2 separate regions of the Homo sapiens genome follow, and region 2 is linked to region 1. Evidence: promoter capture Hi-C in human tissues and cell types (Jung and others, 2019). All regions are on one chromosome and are shown on one strand. The core of a region is centred on a gene start or on the middle of the fragment in contact, and the rest is flanking DNA. Distances in the headings are between cores, read along the strand shown. Region 1 holds the start of DHX30 (DExH-box helicase 30). Region 2 overlaps SMARCC1 (SWI/SNF related BAF chromatin remodeling complex subunit C1).

Region 1 (7,098 bases), core at 4,130-6,629:
GCTAGGCACAGTGGTTCACACCTGTAATCCCAGCGCTTTGGGAGGCTGAGATGAGAGGAGCACTTGAGACCAGGAGTTCAAGACCAGCCTGGGCAACATAGTGAGACCGCATCTCTAAAAAAAATTTTCAGAATTAGCCAGGTGTGGTGGTACATGCTTGCAGTCTTAGCTACTCAGGAGGCTGAGGCAGGAGGATCACTTCGCCCAGGATTTTGAGGTTTACAGTGAGCTGTGATCACGCCACTGCACTCCAGTCTGGGTGACAAAGCAAGACCCTGTCTCTCTTAAAAAAAAAAAACAAAAAGTAAGGCGGGTGCAGTGGCTCATGCCTGTAATCCCAGCATTTTGGGAGGCCGAGGCAAGCAGATCACCTGAGGTCGGGAGTTTGAGACCAGCCTGACCAACATGCAGAAACCCCGTCTCTACTAAAAATACAAAATTAGCCGGACGTGGTGGTGCATGCCTGTAATCCCAACTACGTGGGAGGCTGAGGCAGGAGAATCACTTGAACCCAGGAGGTGGACGTTCCAGTGAGATGAGATTGCGCCACTGCACTGCAGGCTGGGCAACAAGAGCGAAACTCTGTCTCAAAAAAATTTAAAAAAAAAAAGCAAAATTTAATGGCTAGGTGGGGTGGCTCATGCCTGTAGTCCCAGCACTTTGGGACGCCCAGGTGAAGGATCGCTTGAGGCCAGGAGTTCAAGACCAGCCTAGGCAACACAGTGAGACCCTGCCTCTAAAAAAAAAATTTGTAAGTTAATTTGCTTGCAAATAGACTCTTGATTTTGCTTTTTTTTTTTTTTTTTTTTTTTTGAGACAGAGTCTCGCTCTGTCACCAGGTTGGAGGGCAATGGCGTAATATCAGCTTACTGCAACCTCCACCTCCCGGGTTCAAGCTATTCTCCTGTCTCAGCCTTCCAAGTAGCTGGGACTACAGGCACACGCCACCATGCACGGCTAAATTTTTTTGGATTTTTAGTAGAGATGGGCTTTCATCATGTTGGCCAGGATGGTCTCGATCTCTTGGCCTCATGATCTGCCTGCCTCGGCCTCCCAAAGTGCTGGGATTACAGGCATGAGCCACCGTGCCCGGCCAGTTTTGCTTTTTAAAAGTCCCTAAACCTCTAGCCCAATATGTCAATTTAGGCTCATGTACCATTCTTTTTCCTGTACTAATCTAAAAAAACGATACTATGAGAATCAAGACAGGATCTTTTAGAGACAGAATTTACAGAGCTCTAGAACATTTCATAGAGATCCAAAAGAAAGCGGTCTTCCTTGTAATGCAGTCAGTAATGGTGTTTTGTTTTGAGACAGAGTGTTGCTCTTGTTGCCCAGGCTGGAGTGCAATGGCATGATCTCTGCTCACTACAACCTCCACCTCCCGGATTCAAATGATTCTCCTGTCTCAGTCTCCCTAGTAGCTGGGATTACAGGCACCCGCCACCACGCCTGGCTAATTTTTGTATTTTTGGTAGAGACAGTGTTTCACCATGTTGGCCAGGCTGGACTCGAACTCCTGACCTTGTGATCCGCCCGCCTCAGCCTCCCAAAGTGCTGGGATTACAGGCATCAGCCACCACGACCGGCCATAATGCAGTAATGTTTAAAAATCTTTGTAGTGGGCCAGGCTTGGTGGCTCACGCCTGTAATCCCATCACTTTGGGAGGCTGAGGCAGGCAGATTGCCTGAGGTCAGGAGTTCGAGCCCATTCTGGCCAAGATGGTGAAATCCTGTCTCTACTAAAAATACAAAAAAAATTGGCCAGGCACGCCTGAGCGCAGTGGCTCACTCCTGTAATCCCAGCACTTTGGGAGGCCGAAGCAGGTGGATCACAAAGTCAGGAGTTCGAGACCAGCACGGCCAACATGGTAAAACCCCATCTTCACTAAAAATACAAAAAATTAGCCAGGCGTGGTGGTGCACGCCTGTAGTCCCAGCTACTCAGGAGGCTGAGACAGAAGAATCGCTTGAACCCGGGAGGCGGAGGTTGCAGTGAGCCAAGATTGCACCACTGTACTCCAGCCTGGGTGACAGAGTGAGACTCCATCTCAGAAAAAAAAAAGAAAAAAATTGGCCAGGCACGGTGGCTCACACCTGTAATCCCAGCACTTTCGGAGGCAGAGGCAGGCAGATCACAAGGTCAGGAGTTTGAGGTTAGCCTGACCAAAATGGTGAAACCCCATCTCTACTAAAAATACAAAAATAAGCCAGGCGTGGTGGTGCGCACCTGTAATCCCAGCTACTCAGGAGGCTGAGGCAGGAGAATCGCTTGAACCCAGGAGGCAGAGGTTGCAGTGAGCCAAGATCCCACCACTGCACTCCAACCTGGGCAACAGAGTGAGACTCCCATCTAAAAAAAAAAAAAAAAATACAAAAAAATTAGCCGGGCTTGGTGGCATGAGGCTGAGGCAGGGGAATTGCTTGAACTAAGGAGGTGGAGGTTGCAGTGAGCCAAGATTGCACCACTGCACTCCAGCCTGGGCGACAGGGCAAGACTGTCTCAAAAACAAAAAACCTTGTAGCTCAATGTGTCTCTTAAGTAATTTACAGATAAGTAAAATGCTATTATATCAAGATTTCCTGCATAATGAAATACAATTTAACTCCAGGTAGAGTCACTTGGGGATGGTTCCAGGACAGAGACTCCACAATGACTAAAAATGATACCCTTCTGGCTGGGCACAGTGGCTCATGCCTGTAATCCCAGCACTTTGGGAGGCTGAGGCAGGCTGATCACCTGACGTCAGGGGTTTGAGACCAGCCTGGCCAACATGGTGAAACCCAGTCTCTACTAAAAATACAAAACAATCAGCTGGGCATGGTGGCAGGCGCCTGTAATCTCAGCTACTTGGGAGGCTGAGACAGGAGAATTGCTTGAACCTGGGAGGCAGAGGTTGCAGCAAGCCAAGATCGCGCCACTGCACTCCAGCCTGGGGGACAAAGCGAGACTCTGTCTCAAAAATAAAACAAAATAAAATAAATGATATCCTTCTTCCAAAATGGTCAGAAATAGGTTTAACACATACCTCTTGTTTTACAGTACAGCTGAGCATCAGATCCACCACTGCTCTGTGCACGGCTAAATCAACTTACCTTATAAAAGCAATGACAGTCTCAGATTTTGTAGGCTTTTGAACTGGAGCTGAATTCTCTCCTTGCTATTCCTCATCACGAGGCTGGGCCTCCTCCTGAGAAGTACAACGCTGAGTCAATACAGTGGAGGCCCCATAGGGAAAGAAAGTTGCTCCAACCATCATTTACTAGCTCTAACAAGGACAAATTTTGTTAGTGGCATGAAGGGCACATACTGGACAAAATGGCCTTACAAATCAGGACTTACCATGACCCATTCTAGGCCCATTAAATTGTAAGCTGTCCTACACCAGCACCTGTAGAAGTGCTGAAGTCTTCTGACATCATCTAAGAAGATGTCAAGGTAAAGAAAGCCTTGTAAGCCTGAAAAGCATTTTCTGGAAGCCCAGAGCAAAACCTACTTCCACTTTGAGTTCTAATCCCATAATAATTATGATAATCTAACATAAAGAAGCTATAATACTCTTCAAGATTGGGAAAATAACAATAACTCAAAGTTGAATACCATTTTTACAGTTCACAACATACTTCCATAGACTTTACCCCATTTAATCCAGGCAACTATCCAGTGAGGTAGGAATTATCTTTCCAGAGAAGAAAACTGAAGCACAGGTTACACAACCTGCCCAAGATCCCATAGCTGCCTCAGGGCAGATGGAAATCAGCATTGAAGCATGCTGACTCCAAAACCCTCCATGCTTATACTAGGCTAATTTTCTTATTTCCAGGATATTATGCTGTTGCCTAAATGTACTACGGTTCATTCCTTGAGACATATTATACTGTTATCTTCAAAGGCTGAAAGGGGCAAGAAAGGTCCAACAGCTAATAAAACTTGTGTGTGGTTTTTGTTTTGTTTTGTTTTGAGAAGGAGTTTCGCTCTTGTTGCCCAGGCTGGGGTGAAATGGCGCGATCTTGGCTCACTGCAACCTCGGCCTCCTGGGTTCAAGCAATTCTCTTGCCTCAGCCTCCCAAGTAGCTAGGGTTACAGGCGCACGCCACCATGCCCGGCTAATTTTTGTATTTTTAGTAGAAACGAGGTCTAGCCATGTTGGCCAGGCTGGTCTCAAACTTCTGACCTCAGGTGATCCACCCGCCTCGGCCTCCCAAAGTGCTGGGATTACAGGCGTGAGACACCGCTCCCGGCCCTAATAAAACTTTGTATCACAGCTACATAAATTAAAACACTTGAAGAGCAACTATCTTTTAGGGATAAAGAGCCAACACCGGTAGAAAACGCAGCAAAGGATGTAGTTTCTGCACATCGCCTTAAATCTCTAAGATTTAAGTGTAAATTACAAGATGTAGTTAAAACCCACAATGACAGTGGGGTTACCACCTTGCAAGAAACTTCAAGGGAAATCACCAGACAACGTCTCATTTCACTCTGGCCCATAAGCTGCAACTAAAACCAGGTTGAAAGCCTGTAAGTGGCCTTCTGCAGTCTACCTGCTAGTGTATGGCAAACCCTCATGGAGTGGGGTTGTAAAGTGAAACAGCCTCTGCCTTGAAAAATCATAATTCAAGTGACCAATGTTGCTACACAACGACTAGATATGCCATATCCCTGGCTTAGGGTTTCTGAGGACCCCTGGGACTCCAGTTCACTGCAAACAAAGGACCCAACATGCATTTGGTCTTCCCCTGCTAAATGGGACAAGTTACCACCAGCAAACAAAGAATACCTCACCCCTTGGCCTCCCCCAGTGACAAGGTCGGTGCAAAAGGGGGCAAACTAGGGGGGCCAGAAGGCACCGGGCCTCCCTCTGGACGAACGGTCCGGGCAGCACCGGGAAGGAGGAGAAGTAGACAAAGGTCTCGGGGCACTCAGGAGGCTTCCTCCAGGCCCTGCCTGGGGAAACGGCGCATCCCGAGGCGAAGGCGTCGTTGCGCCAATGAAGCGGCCTCTCCCACGGCCTCCGCGGAGCCCCTGGCTGCGAGGCCCGCCCCGGCGGACCGGTCTGGCCCCCGCCCCCGCCCGGGCTCCATGGCAACGGCAGGCCGAGGCCTGGCTGCCCACGGATCGGCCGGGCCGGCTTCCCGGGCAGGCCTAGGATGCCCGGCCTGCTCCTCGGGCCCGCCGGCGTCTCCGCCCCACTCTCCGCCAGGCTGGCGGTCGGACCGGGCCCCCTCCTCACGACGACCACCCCCGGCCGCGGCAGGCTCCTCAAGAGGGCACGAAAGGGGAGAATAAAAAGCCCAATTCACCTGTTGTTACAGATGTGAAACAAGCCTCTGTGCACCGCGCATGAGCCGCGGCTCCCCCAACCACGGCCGGACTACAACTCCCAGCAGCGGCGGCGCGGCCCCTTCCGAGTCCCGTGGCGGAAGTCCCGCCACCGGCCCGGCGTTCCCCACCCGGCGTCACGGAGCCCGCCTGCGGCGCACGGCTCCGCTCCCCCGCGGGCCTGGAGCCCGGCCCCACCTGGGACTCGTCGTAGCCGCTCGGGGCACCCAGCGCCCGGGATGCCCCAGCACCCGGCCCAATGGGGCGCGGCGGCGGTGCAGGCGGGACTTCCGGCGGAGTCGCGAAGGGGACGGGTTGGCGCCGGCTGCTCTGGGGTCGCAGAGCGAGCGGGTTTGGGTGGCGGGGTCGGGCGTCAAGTTGCTGCCTTTCTCGGCGACTTAGCTGCCTGCAGTGTGAAAGCGGGAAGGGTCTTCTCGCCCTCTGCGAGCCACCCGCGCCTCCTGATGCGAATAAACAGCCCGGGTCATGGCTGAGCGGGGAACGGTTTCCAGCTCGGGCTCCGGGATTCCACCCGCCTTCCCCGCCACAGCTCGTAGCCACGCCTCTTCTCTTCCCCATCTCCCCTCTAATCTGTTTTTTTAGGGAGGTGAGCATTTTTGTCTTGTCTCCCCAGTTTGCAGGGAAGATGAAATCAACGTGTTGGTTCGTTGATTTCGTAAACTGTACAACGTTAGGCAAAGGACAAGGTGGCACTTGCTGGTCGCGGGGAGAGTGCCAGTCATAGTTGCTGGAAATCTGGAGGTCCGCCCGGCCACATCACCTCTTAGGAATGAGAAAGGGGATTGTCCCAATTACACGCTGTAGTCCTCTAGATAAGGTTCAAGTATAGGTTCAGTGGAATTCAGCTTCAAAAGGAAACAACGCAGTGGCGTAGCTCTGAAGCTGGGTCAGGATTTTACAGAGTATGGTTTTAAGATGTGGCCTTTAGGCCGGGCGTGGTGGCTCACGCCTGTAATCCCAGCACTTTGGGAGGCCAAGGCGGGTGGATCACCTGCGGTCAGGAGTTCAAAACCAGCCTGGCCAACATGGTGAAACCCCGTCTCAACTAAAAATGCAAAAAAATTAGCTGGGCGTGGTGGCGGGCGCATATAATCCTAGCTACTTCGGGAGGCTGAGGCAGGAGAATCACTTGAACCCGGGAGGCGGATGTTGCAGTAAGCCGAGATCGTGTCATTGAACTCCAGCCTGGGCGACAAGAATGAAACTTAAAAAAAAAAAAAAAAAAAGATGTGACCTTTGAGGCTGTATGAAGAATTAGTGCCATATCCCGTCACTTTTGTGTGCAAACAGTTCAACATGTATCTCTTTTCTTTCTCTCTACATTGGCTAGAAGACCGGGGTGTGGGGGTGGAACATCATTTATTCATTCAAATAATTAGTGCATCTGAACAGGGCATGGTGCTGTGTTGTGTGGAGAATAGAGAGATCCCTGCACGGACATCTGAGTGCTCTGTGTATCAGTTGCTAAGCTGGTGTGGAGGCTACAAAGGCCCTGCCTCAAGGGACTTAGAGCCTAGTAGAGAAGATGACAACATTGTGTGAAGGAAATGGAAAGTGGTAAATGCTGGAAAGGAGGTATTAGGTACTCCAAGAGTTCAGAGAAAGGAGTGGTTACTCCTGAATGGCAAAATGAAAGGAACGTGAACAAAGACATACGAGTGGAACAAGGGACAAATCCTAGGAATATTCAGTAGTTCAGTGTGACCACAGGGTTGGATGTGTGTGCAAGCTTTACAGGAAATAGAACTGAAAAA
Region 2 (7,291 bases), core at 3,936-6,435, 150 kb after region 1:
GACTTAATTACCTGTTTCTCTTTAATCAGTCTTAAAGAGGAGTGAAATTAATAAAGCAACTTTATACGTAGTACCGGCTTCTCAAATGGAAGTGCTCTTACATAAGAGGCTTTTTTTTTGAAATGGAGTCTTCCTCTGTCACCCAGGCTGGAGTGCAGTGGCGTGATCTTGGCTCACTGCAACCTCCGCCTCCCAGGTTCAAGCGCTTCTCCTGCCTCAGCCTCCCTAGTAGCTGGGACTACAGGTGCGCACCACCAAGCCCAGCTAATTTTTGCATTTTTAGTAGAGATGGGAATTTAGCATATTGGCCAGGCTGGTCTCGAACTCCTGACCTTGTGATCCGCCCGTCTCGGCCTCCCAAAGTGCTGGGATTACAGGCATGAGCCAACCTAAAAACATTATTGTCTCTGTAATTATTTGTAGTATATTCCCAGCATTTTTTACATTGTTCATTAATATTTTTCTTTTCTATCATTATGAAACTATGTATGTCTGGTGATTAAAGAACTATAGGTGTCATTTTGCCTAATTATTTCCATCTTTATCTCACTGGTATGAAATTTATATACACTGTGCTTTAGATACAGTGATTTTCATTTGTCTTTTTAATTATTATTATTTTTTGTTTTGAGACAGAGTCTCGCTCTGTCACCCAGACTGGAGTATGGTGGTGTGATCTCAACTCACTGCATGCAACCTCCACCTCCCAGGCTCAAGCGATTCTGCTGTCTCAGCCTCCCAAGTAGTTGGGATTACATGTGTGTGCCACGACACCTGGCTGATTTTTGTATTTTTGGTGGAGACAGGGTTTCACCATATTGGCCAGGCTGGTCTCCAACTCCTTACCTCAAGTGATCTGCCCGCCTCAGCCTCCCAAAGTGCTGGGATTATGGACGTGGGCCACCGTGCCTGGCCTATTATTATTTTTTTTGAGACAGTGTCTCGCTTTGTCACCCAGGCTGGAGTACGGTGGCGTGATCACAGCCCATCACAACCTCTGCCTCCCAGGCTCAAGTGATTTCTCCCACCTAAGCTTCCCAAGTAGCTAGAACTACAGGCACATGACACCATTGCTGGCTATTGTCTTTTTCATTTACTCTTAGAATAAAGATAATAGGAAGTAAAAATTAAAATTGCTAGCTAGTGCTCTACAGAACATATCATATAAACACCTAGTGCTCCCTTCTTGGCAGTTCAAGTGGATATCAGTGAGGTCCTTTCAAACCTAAAATCTTACCATTTTTTATGAGTTTGCATAGGGCCTACCCCTGTTGTTCTCTCTACTTTGTTTGAATTAAGTGCCAGTCTAGCCATCTCATTTTGCTTATATGGAAACATTTTCAGATTAATGAAGCCTCTTATCCCTGCTGCTGGGGTTTGGATATGGTTTCTTTGTCCTCACCAAAACTTATATTGAACTTTGATCCCCAGTGTTATGGTGTTGGGAGGTGTTTGGGTTGTGGAGGCCTATCCTTCATAAATGGCTTGGTGCTATTCTTGTAGTAGTGAATGAGTTTCCACTCTCACTCTTGGGGAATTGGATTAGTTATCCCAGTAATGGATTCATTCGCCTCAGAGTGGGTTGTTATAATTTCAGGACCCTCCTCAGGTTTCTCTTCTTGGTACACCTGTCTGCGTCTCCTTTGACCTCCTCTGCCATGTTGCGACACAGAACAAAATCCTTTGCTAGGAATCGGGGCCATGCCCTTGAACTTCTAAGTCTGTGGAACTGTGAGCTAAATAAACCCTTTTTCTTTATAAGTTATCTAGTTTCAGATAGGCTTTTATAGCAGCAGAAAATGGACTAAGATCCCAGTCCTCTGCGCAAATTATTGTTCTAACTCTTCTTAACGTTGGTTACACCTAGAGTACCAACTCTTTGATTTAAAAGCAATTTGAGAGTATCTATAATTCTTAGTTTGAAAATTAACTTATTTTCTTTTTCTTATATGGAGACTGAAATTAGCAGGCGAAGTCACGTCTCTGTTCTTCTATGTTGATTCTGCACCACCAGACAGTACCCAGCATAGGCTGGAAAAACCTGGGGCTAATGAAGCCTGGGTCTTAATTTCCTAAATGTTTTTGGTATTGGTTCATTTGTAGGGTCTTTTGGTTCTCTGTGGTTATGGAGTTGAAAAAACATTGGCAGTCTTATTTGATTCAGTGAGATTTGTGTACTTTGCCAAATGAGGGATGTGTTTTTACATGTATGTTTTGAAAACACATTTTGGTAGACGATACCATAGAGCATTAGTGGCTATGAAATAGGTTGCAAATTTAGCCATTTCTAGTTTAGTGGGTTTTGAAACAAGACTGAAGTATCTAGCAACCTTGGTTTCTTTGGGGCTGGATTCTCCTGATTCATTAGTGAATTTATGGTTTGTGGAGCATGCAGAGGTTAGACTGCTACAGGAGGCACATGAGACTACAAGGGCTGACCTTTGAGTGGCATTAACAGTAAAATTCATTCACGGTATCTGGAAGTAGCCTCCCAGTTAACTTCTTTCAAGTGTGTTCTGTACTCACTAATTGCAGCAACAGAATTTGGGTCCTCTTATAATAAGGGTAAGGAAAACAGACCATAACATAAATATTTCAAATGAGTTGAGAATAGGTCCCTGTAACTTATGCTGGACTATTATAGATAATATGATTTATATTGGATTCTGACAAATGGAATAAATTGAAAAACAGCAAATGTTTCTCCCTTGGGAATTGGCTCAACAAAATTGTAGTAGGAAGTCAACAGTATGTCTCTTACGTTTCATGTCACAAATACTGCCTTATTGCATAGCACACTGATTTGAAACCGAGTGATATAGGATTTTACTTAGCAAGATAATAGTGTACTTGGGTGGTGGGTTCATGGTACTATTTATTGTGATAATTTACTGTGTTACAAATGTGTACACATAGGTATTAACTATGGTAAAATCATACTATAGGGAAAATAAGCTTCCTTAAGAAATATAGTACTTGTTTTGGGTTCCTGTCATTAACCTATCTAACATTTCATTGTGAATTTGGATAAGAAAAGAAATATATGATGTATATGGTGAAATGAAAGTAAAGCGGCCGGGCGCCGTGGCTCACGCCTGTAATCCCAGCACTTTGGGAGGCCGAGGCGGGTGGATCATGAGGTCAGGAGATCGAGACCATCCTGGCTAACAAGGTGAAACCCTGTCTCTACTAAAAATACAAAAAATTAGCCGGGCGCGGTGGCGGGCGCCTGTAGTCCCAGCTACTCGGGAGGCTGAGGCCAGGAGAATGGCGTGAACCCGGGAAGCGGAGCTTGCAGTGAGCCGAGATTGCGCCACTGCAGTCCGCAGTCCGGCCTGGGCGACAGAGCGAGACTCCGTCTCAAAAAAAAAAAAAAAAAAGAAAGTAAAGCTGGATGAACACTCAAAACACCTCTTACATTTATATTTTAAGTGATTTCCCATAGGAATTATTTAGGAAATGAGTGTTTTCTTATGAGAAGGGTCTTCTTCAGTCCATCTTTTTAACTATGGTCACTCACCAAGAACTATTAATTTCTGTACATTTATATATTTTTTGTTTTTCATTGACTGGACCATTCTAGGCATACAAAAAATACTTCTGAGTACCCATATTTAGTCCACATTGTATAGGGATTTTTGATTGGCCATTTGAGTTTCTTTTCAGGAGAATCCTTTGGAGGAAGTAACTTTTTTTTTTTTTTTTTGCAAAAGCAAGGAAACTGAGGCATGGAGAGGTTACATAAGTGTGTATCTGAACCAGAAATTTAACCTAAATCTCTCTAATCCCAAAGCTCTACTTCTCTTCATTGTAGCAGGCTGCCAGAAGTAAAATTTGTAGATGTGTCTGTGTGGTTTTCATTCATTGAACAAGCATCTTTAAAGGCTTAATAGCTCCAAAATACTATTCCGTCTTAGATACTATGGGAAATATAATGCTGAAGAGCCCAGGCCCTCTTGAGAACTTAACACCTGTCTCCTGAAATAGGCAAATGCATCAGGCAGAGCAGCTGTGGTTGACTTCCTCTATATGCCACTGAATGCCAACAAAACCCACAGAAGCCTGGGTGCTGTGGCTTATGCTCGTAATCCCAACATTTTGGCAGGCAGGAGAATTGCTTTAGGCCAGGATTTCGAGACCAGCCTGGTCAACATAGCAAGACCCCATCTCTACAAAAAGTAAAAATAAAAAAATTAGCTGAGCATGGTGGTGCAAACCTGTAGTCCTAGCTACTCAGGAAGACAAGGTGAGAGGATCACCTGAGCCCAAGCTACAGAGAGCTGTGATCCACACTACTGCATTCCAGCCTAGGTGACTAAGCGAGACCATGTCTCAAATAAAAACCAAAAACCTTACACCAAAATTCAGTCAGTGTCATTCAGTGCATGAGCCTGTGCCAGAGAAGCTTTCTTGGACATAATCACAAAAAATCAAACTCAGTGTATCATATTATCACATCATTTCTTTGTGTTCTGGATGCTAGGATACTGGTAAACAAAGTAAACCAAAATTTCTCCCCTTTATATTTTATATTTATAGAGTGTAAGATGGACAGCAATCTAATCAAATAAGTAAAACTTAACGTGTATAGATGTAATTATATATGAAGAGTATGTTGGCTGATGTGCTATGGTGAAAAGCAAAGCAGGGTTGCAAGGATATGAGTAAAGTGTGGGAATTACAATTTTAAATGATCAGGGAAAGTCTCATTGAGAAAGTGACTTTTGAGCAAAGATGTAAATAAGGTGAGCAAGACTGCTATGTAGGCATCCAGTGTAAGAGTGTTCCCAGTATTGGCAGAAGCCAGTGTAAAGCCCCCTGGGCAGGAGCTACCTGGCATACTTGAAGAACAGCAAGGAGGCTCATGTAAAGTTATAATAGCTCGATTGGTGGGGGAGGGGAGGTCATATGAGATGTTAAGGTAATTTGTGGGCTATTGTAAAATATTAATGTTTAAGTCTTTATGCAAAGTGGAGCAAGTGGAGCAGTTTGACCAAAAGAGTGTCAGAGTCTGACATATATATTTGAGACAGGGTTTCACTCTGTTGCCTAGACTGGAGTGCAGTGGCACAATCTTGGCTCACTGCAACCTCTGCATCCTGGGCTCAGGTGATTCTCCCACCTCAGCCTCCCCAATAGCTGGGACCACAGGGGTGCATCACCACACCTTGATTTTTGTGTGTTTTTTATAGAGGCAGGGTTTCGCCATGTTGCTTAGGCTGGTCTCAAACTCCTGGACTCCAGCAATCTGCCTGCCTTAGCGTCCCAAAGAGCTGGGATTGCAGACGTGAGCCACCACACCTGGCCTGAGTCTGACCTATATTTTTTCAAGTCTTACTGTAACTTTTCGATTGAGAATATACCCCCATGTAGAAGTTGTTAAATTGATTTATTATGCAGATAACATATTTGATTTTCAAAGAAAATTTTCTTCATTGCATCACTAAGGCTTTTATTAAAAAGCTCTATAAAGATTTTATTAAACTTTTCTTTATTTATTTTTATTTTTTTTTAAAGAGACAGGGTCTTGCTATGTCTCCCTGGCTGGATACAGTGGCATGATCATGATTCACTACAGCCTTGACCTCCTGGGCTCAAGTGATCCTCCCACTTCTGCCTCCGAGTATCTGGGACTACAGGTGTGCACCACCATCCCTGGCTAATTCTTTTAGTTATTGTAGAGACAGGGTCTCACTATGTTGCTTAGACTAGTCTCAAACTCCTGAGCTCAAGCCATCATCCCACCTTGGCCTCTCAAAGTGCTGGGATTACAGTCATGAGCCACTGCACTCAACCCAAGGCCACATTTTATGCTTGTGTTTTGCTAGGATTACAGGTAGATATTTTTTTACATGACTTGGAAACTAAACAAAATCGCCTATCTTGTAGTTTGTTTACTTACAGCAAACATTGATAGGATAGCACAGTGAAATCTTGTATACCTACTAGTTAGGTTCAACTTTTTGATATTTATTTAGCTATCTAAAGAAATGTTTTTATTTTTTTCTTGAATAATAATAATAATAATAATTATTATTATTATTATTATTATTTTAAACAGAGTCTCGCTCTGTCGCCCAGGCTAGAGTGCAGTTGCACGATCTCCGCTCACTGCAAGCTCCGCCTCTGGGGTTCTCGCCGTTCTCCTGCCTCAGCCTCCCAAGTAGCTGGGACTACAGGCGCCCACCACCATGCCTGGCTAATTTTTTGTATTTTTAGTAGAGACAGGGCTTCACCGTGTTAGCCAGGATGATCTCGATCTCCTGACCTCGTGATCCGCCTGCCTCGGCCTCCCAAAGTGCTGGGATTACAGGCGTGAGCCACCAAGCCCGGCCTGAATTATTTCAAAGTAGGTTGAAGACATTCGATGATTCTTTGTAGCCTAAATAGTCCACCATGTATTTCCTAAGGATAAGGACATTTTCCTACATCAGTTATTTAATACAATGAATTTTAGTCCCTTTTTGGGACACCAGCCCTTTCCCTCAAGAGAGTTGGAATGTACTTGTACATTCAAGGGCTAGTCAAGGGTTTCTCAAAAATCTTTTATTGTTACCCTCATTTATATTTCCTGATCTCAAGTATTAGTTTCATTTCTTTTGCTACTGAGTGGATTTACTGTCTGCATCTCAATTCTGGTTTGGACAGGTTTTGAGGGATTGAGTTAATTGAAGTGTTTTCCTTACAAGTTGATGACTTTTGGTAAAATTTAATCACAAATAGAATAATCAAGAGTTTTTAAAAATATATCAATGAGTAGATTGTCTACCGAGCTCCTTAACAGCCTGTGGAATACAGGTTTCCCATGAGTACATCTTGAGCCAGTTGTCACAGCTCTGTGTTAAAGAACCCAACTAATGGTTCCTAGTTTTTAAGAAGGTTAAGGACTAACTAGTCTCTAGACCATTATGAGATTAAGATAATCCTGAAATAAATAATACCGAAGAAGTAACTTTCTAAGAACATACAGCCCAGAAATGACTGTTAGAATTCTCGCCTCAGATGCTATTCATAGCTTATAAGTAGCCTTGCTCTTCTCACCATGAGGATTTCCATAACATTATTTTTAAAGTCAGGCACTTCTAAAACACCATGTGTGAAAACACCCTAGGCCAATGCATGTAAGAAAAATGTGGAACCATATTTGATCATCAGACTTACATCACGTGGAGTGGGCTTCTCTCTTTCTCTTTGTTATATTTAAAGGGCTCTTTCAAGTATAGTAAAAACATATTGAAATATAGACTCAAACTTCTGAATAGCTCATAATTGGACATTTAATTTCTAAGGA

Evidence for each region. The method cuts DNA at HindIII sites, captures the fragments that hold promoters and counts their contacts. A contact is called where the count stands out against the background at its distance.
Region 2: a contact is called between a fragment that was not itself captured here and the fragment with the promoter of DHX30 in region 1, in 1 of the 25 tissues and cell types used here (IMR-90 fibroblasts).

The regions. Positions count from the first base shown.
Region 1 is chr3:47,801,419-47,808,516 of GRCh38, reverse strand. DHX30 (DExH-box helicase 30) reads right to left here and starts at 5,379. Exons shown (of 22, transcript NM_138615.3): 1 at 5,305-5,379; 2 at 3,097-3,191. RefSeq lists silencers at 3,585-3,781, 4,959-5,808 and an enhancer at 4,709-5,234. The HindIII fragment of the contact is 11,371 bases long and covers 1-7,098 here.
Region 2 is chr3:47,649,039-47,656,329 of GRCh38, reverse strand. The region is part of intron 21 of SMARCC1 (SWI/SNF related BAF chromatin remodeling complex subunit C1); the gene reads left to right. Among named protein-coding and RNA genes, the nearest start is that of SNORD146, 9.0 kb to the left of the region's middle. The HindIII fragment of the contact is 3,009 bases long and covers 3,681-6,689 here.